Regions from separate parts of the Homo sapiens genome. Here region 2 is linked to region 1. Evidence: promoter capture Hi-C in human tissues and cell types (Jung and others, 2019). All regions are on one chromosome and are shown on one strand. Each heading gives the region's core, a stretch centred on a gene start or on the middle of the fragment in contact. The rest is flanking DNA. Distances are from core to core; before and after follow the strand shown.

The links. The method cuts DNA at HindIII sites, captures the fragments that hold promoters and counts their contacts. A contact is called where the count stands out against the background at its distance.
Region 2: a contact is called between a fragment that was not itself captured here and the fragment with the promoter of CHURC1-FNTB in region 1, in 1 of the 25 tissues and cell types used here (heart left ventricle).

The regions. Positions count from the first base shown.
Region 1 is chr14:64,912,926-64,915,883 of GRCh38, reverse strand. CHURC1-FNTB (CHURC1-FNTB readthrough) reads right to left here and starts at 1,523. Exons shown (of 14, transcript NM_001202559.1): 1 at 1,350-1,523. The coding sequence starts at 1,469. CHURC1 (churchill domain containing 1) reads right to left here and starts at 1,429. Exons shown (of 4, transcript NM_001386928.1): 1 at 1,350-1,429. The coding sequence starts at 1,388. RefSeq lists enhancers at 1,160-1,429, 1,580-1,629. The HindIII fragment of the contact is 18,830 bases long and covers 1-2,958 here.
Region 2 is chr14:64,512,942-64,515,722 of GRCh38, reverse strand. All of the region lies in intron 1 of ZBTB1 (zinc finger and BTB domain containing 1), which reads right to left. HSPA2-AS1 (HSPA2 and ZBTB1 antisense RNA 1) reads left to right here. Exons shown (of 4, transcript NR_110550.1): 4 at 1,342-1,572. Among named protein-coding and RNA genes, the nearest start is that of ZBTB1, 9.6 kb to the right of the region's middle. The HindIII fragment of the contact is 3,390 bases long and covers 1-2,781 here.

The DNA of each region.
Region 1 (2,958 bases), core at 274-2,773:
CACTTCCATTCCTCATTCATTAATGGTGTTCCATTCTAATGAATGTATCAGTTACTTTTCCAATCTACTACAAAAATAATGCTGTTATGAACACTTATTTATAAAAGTCTTCAGAAGCATATACACATGCATTTTTCTAGAATGGGAATCACTGGGTCATGTCTGTATTTTATAAGGCTCACCCGCTTTTTCAAAGTAGTTGTACTACAGGAGAATTCATACTGTTATACATGCTACTCAAAAGCCTAAGTATTACCCATAAGATACTAAGACATAAGGAACTACAGAGACTTTCTCCCTCCTTCCCAACCAATGCACAAATTCCATTTCTGTAATTTTCCCCCATCCTCCAGCTCCTCACCTTCTTTTCTACCCTAATTACAACTGTCCTTCAAGTCTTAGATGATGTCCACCTTTTCTCAGGGGAGAACAGCACTATCCCCTATTGCCCTCCCCTTTCCCTAAACTTGAATAGCATTTCTGAACTGAGCTACTCATTTTTTGTTAGTCACATACTCCCCAAAACTGTAAGCTGTTAGGCAGCACCAAAGGTGCCTTTTAATTTCTTCTCTGAAACAAATAATCCAGCTGGACGTGGTGGCTCATGCCAGTAATCCCAGCACTTTCGGAGGCCAAGGCGGGAGGATCACTTGATCCCAGGAATTTGAGACCAGCCTGGGCAACAGCAGCACCCTGTCTCAAAGAGAGGAGAAATAATCCCTTTCTGGCCTAGCAAAGTAATCTAACTACACATATATAAATGTTCAACAAGGATGCCTTGAATGAATGAGAATAGACAAGCTTTGCAAACTCCTGAACCTGAAAGTAACTGAGATTCAGAAGGCGGTAACAGGCAGGAAACCTAAATTCTAGTCCTGGCTCTCATCCATGCAACTAGAATGTGAACTTGGGCAAGTGATTTCCCCTCTCTGGGCATCGGTTTCTTCATCTGCAAAAGTGTTAGAACAGATGACCACAGAGGTCCCCTCCAGCGCTAGAATTCGGTAAGAAAATTGTACTTCATCAAATCGAGCTTGAGGATGAGACCGGAAGTGGGGGTGGGGGAGTCCCTCGGTTGTCGACGGGGGTTGTGGTGGTGGTGGGGTTCCTCTGTTGCTCCTTGGAGCTCAAGAGAACGGCCACTACAACTGAGGTCAGCCGCCAGGGCGGGTACCAGAGGTGCAGACCGCCACAGGCCATCCCTGGTGTGCCTAAATACCGCTACTGGGTCACCGGGACCGGCAGTGCGGCCGAGTCCGCCCCACGTACGGCCTCTCTGGGAAGGCCAGCCTTGGATATGAGACACCTCGGGGGCCGCCCGCGGGCCAAGGGAGCGCCCAGTCGCTCACCCGGTTGGGATATTCCTTCTCCACACAGTCGCCACACATCGCGACGCAGTCAACAGGGAATGTCCTCCAACGCTTCCGGGAAGACGAAACCTCGCGAGAACTGAGATACGGTTGCCGCATGCGCCCAAGTACTCGACTCCTGGGTATTCCGTCTCGGGAACCGAGCCGAAGTCTCCGCCCCTTAGCAACTGTTGTCAAGGCAGGGCACAGTCTCCTTGGCACCGTGCGTGGGCAAAGGGTGGGGCTTCAGAAACCTTTGGAGACAGACGAAGAAATCTTGTGCGCTAACAGATGTGACGGGAAGGGAAAGGGATCTTGGGCTGAGCGAAGTTCTCACAGACACCTTCCTGAGCTTAGGCTGACAAGAAAGGCAAATCACGACACACAAGAAAGGGAATTATTTCTCGCTACCGCATATACAAATCTGAAATGTTAATGAATACATTTCTGTACCATTTCTTAAGGCAATGAGAGTGAATAAGAGACCAGATCTCAGCAGGTGAATAAACAGTAACCGAAGTGTTTGGGAAGAGACACTCAGAGTGCTGCAGAAAATCTCCTAAAAAAACACTTAAAATATTAGTAATAATTGGTCATTCCAGAGTCCTCTGGAGGACATAGCAACGAGGAACGTATTTCTATCTCTCTCAGGTGTCACAGAAGCACCTCAGTGGCGGGCAAGCACTATGTAAATAGAAAAATGGCCAGGTCATCAGCCATCCCATTACTGGGTATATACCCAAAGGATTATAAATCATGCTGCTATAAAGACACATGCACATGTATGTTTATTGTGGCACTATTCAGAATACCAAAGACTTGGAACCAATGCAAATGTCCATCAATGATAGACTGGATTAAGAAAATGTGGCACATATATACCATGGAATACTATGCAGCCATAAAAAAGGATGAGTTCATGTCCTTTGTAGGGACACGGATGAAGCTGGAAACCGTCATTCTGAGCAAACTATCGCAAGGACAGAAAACCAAACACCGCATGTTCTCACTCATAGGTGGGAATTGAACAATGAGAACACTTGGACACAGGGTGGGGAACACCACACACCGGGGCCTGTCGTGGGGTGGGGGGAGGGGGGAGGGATAGCATTAGGAGATATACTTAATGTAAATGACGAGTTAATGTGTGCAGCACACCAACATGGCATATCTATACATAGGTAACAAATCTGCACGTTGTGCACATGTACCCTAGAACTTAAAGTATATTAAAAATAAATAGATTTCAAAAATTATCTAATTGAATTGACTGCAGATATTTTGATTTCAGATTTGCACATCCATTTATAAATGACCTATTGGTTCACAGATTAAAAAACCAATAAACATATGTGCTTCCAAGAAAAGAAAGAAAGAAAGAAAAATGGCCAGGTCAGTTGTTCCTGCATCATTTCCCAATCCTGTGGGTCTCAAAATGCTTGTGCTTGTTGCCCCGCCTCATCCTTTCTCTCTGTATTGAAAGCATCTTATTTATTCGCAACGACCTAATTAACTTGCAGACGAATCTCCGAAGTTTGTCTCTGTTTCTGAACAATGCGTCTTTATCACACTCCTCTACCCCAATGGGAACATCAACATCCTCCCTCAG
Region 2 (2,781 bases), core at 54-2,553, 400 kb after region 1:
CAGTGAAACCCTGTCTCTACTAAAAATACAAAAAATTAGCCGGGCGTGGTGGCAGGCACCTGTATTCCCAGCTACTTGGGAGGCTGAGGCGGGAGAATGGCGGGAACTCGGGAGGCGGAGCTTACAGTGAGCCAAGACTGTGCCACTGCACTCCAGCCTGGGCGACAGAGCAAGACTCCATCTCAAAAAAAAAAAAAAAAAATTATGAGGCATTCACTTTCATTAAATTATAATTTCACTCAAATTCCAAGAGGAGTTTGCTCTTTTTTCATTTTTTTGACCTCTTTATTAATGCTGCCAAAAAAAGTTAATGAACTTTATGTTCTAGTAAAGCCTATAAAAGGTTTTAAGTAAATGGACAGCTTGTATTTCAGCTGTTCTTGTTTTTACGACTGAAATCTGTGATTGCTTTTGTTTGTACTACTAGCTGCATCACTGGTAGGACAAGTTTAGCACAACTAGAAGTCAAGGGCTCAGGTCTGAGAGCAGAACCTCCAATGTGACTCAAAGGACTTAATGTCATTTGGATAAGGAAAACAAGCTATATAATGCCAAGAGTTACACTAAGGCTAGAAGGATACCCACTGTGCAGAACTCTAGCAAGAATTAAGGAGTTAGGTGATCCAAAAAGTTTTATACTGGATTTTTAAAATTTTAGTCTGAAAAAGTTTAACGGCTCATCTCAAGTTTAAAAACAGTCACCAAGCACATTAAGCATATTAAGTAATTTAATCATACATTTTTAGAGCTTAGAGAGATCTAATCTAGTCTAACATTCTTATTCCATAGAAGGCAAAGATACATGGTTTTTAATGTATCAGGGTATAGTTAACTGTGCTGAAGCACATACTAGGACTAAGGACTCCTGACCACCCAGATAGTAATAACCTCTATATATGGCACTTCCTTGGTACTATACAGTATGGTCTTCCGGAAAGAACACTAAACAAGGACAGGGCATGAGTCCTTAATACAGGGTTTGTTGGTTGGATGCTATTGAGCAAGTGATTACCCCAATCTGAATTCTTTATCTGTAATGTGGCTTTATCCATACATGTCAATCTAGTCTTATTCAATAGATGTGTTCCCTAAGTTATACTGTGTAAGCTATTTCAGTAAATTTCTCACTGACATAGTAAGATTTCAGAAATATTTTTCCTCCATTGCTAGATCTCTCAAATTGGAAATAACAGTTTTGCTGGAAGTTTCTCTTGCTCCAGCCTTGGTAAATGATAATTTAAGGGTCTATAAATAAGCATATCCAATGAATAAAGAAGTAACTTAAAGGAATTTTAAAGTGTTTCTGTGAGGCAAATAATCACCCTCTAAATTGTGTCACAGACTTGCAGCACCAATGAGGCATTTGAAGATGATTCGCTTAGCCTCAGTGAAAGTCTAGAGAGCCTAGCATCACAGTCCCAATTCAGCACCCCAATCTCTGACTTACAATTACCTCTGGATCTCAAGGAAGATTTATGTATATATGTTTCCTTTTACCTATTTCTATGTCTTATAGGTTGAATGTATGTATGCATATGGATTTGAGGATTACAGAGTATTTTAAAAGTCTAAAATGTAATGAAAGGATTCTTACATTTTAACATCAGAATATCAGAATCTATTGAATACTCATAATGTTCCTAACACTGGATAGAGCATTGAAATGGAGGGTGGAGAAGGATGGTGTACAATAGAGATAACTGTATATGAGGGATTAAATTTGAAACCAAGAAACAATTTGAGGAGTTTAATAAACTATATTGAGGCCGGTGCGGTGGCTCATACCTGTAATCCCAGCACTTTGGGAGGCTGAGGTGGGTGGATCACCTGAGGTCAGGAGTTCAAGACCAGCCTGACCAACATGGTGAAACTCTGTCTCTACAAAAATACAAAAATCAGCCGGGCATGATAGTGGATGCCTGTAATCCCAGCTACTTGGGGGGCTGAGGCAGGAGAATCGCTTGAACCTGGAGGCAGAGGTTGCAGTGAACTGAGATTGAGCCACTGCACTCCAGCCTGGGCAACAGAGCAAGACTCCATCTCAAACATAAAAATAAAAATAAAAATAAACTATATTGAATAAAGTTCAGCAAGAGTTTAGAAGAAAAGCGTTAATTATACCAAAATAGTAGGCTTTAGGAAGGATGTAGGATTTGAGTAAAGCCTTGATGAATGAGTAGGATAAACAGAAAGCAAGGGTGAGGCATTTCGAGTATTTATATAGATGTGTATGTAAATAATTGAGGAGGGTACACAGCAGCTTGGCTGGAAATGTAACAGGACAGAAGGTAGATTTGCTTTACTGGACTGGTAGATGAAGGTTATCAAAGTAGAGTAAATGACAACTGTAATACAATAATAATATGAATAGCTAACATTTGTTATGTCTCACTATATGCCAGGCTCTATTCCAGGCAGATGTATAGGGAGATGTATATATATCTCTCACAGATACATTACACATATACACATATGGATATATATGGATATATGCAATATATATGTGTGAGATATGCACACATATATTGCATATATACATGTATGTATATACATGTATGTGTGTATGTGTGCATATCTGTGTATGTATCCATATATAGGTATCATTTTATGTGTATGTATGCATATATAAGTATCATTTTAGCATTTAATCCTCGTAACAAACCCTACAAAGTAGATGCTGCTATAAGACTCATTTTCAAGATTAAATAACAGAGGCATACAGTGTTATATAACCTTTGTAATATCACAAAGAGAGGACTTCATGGGATTAGAACACAGGCA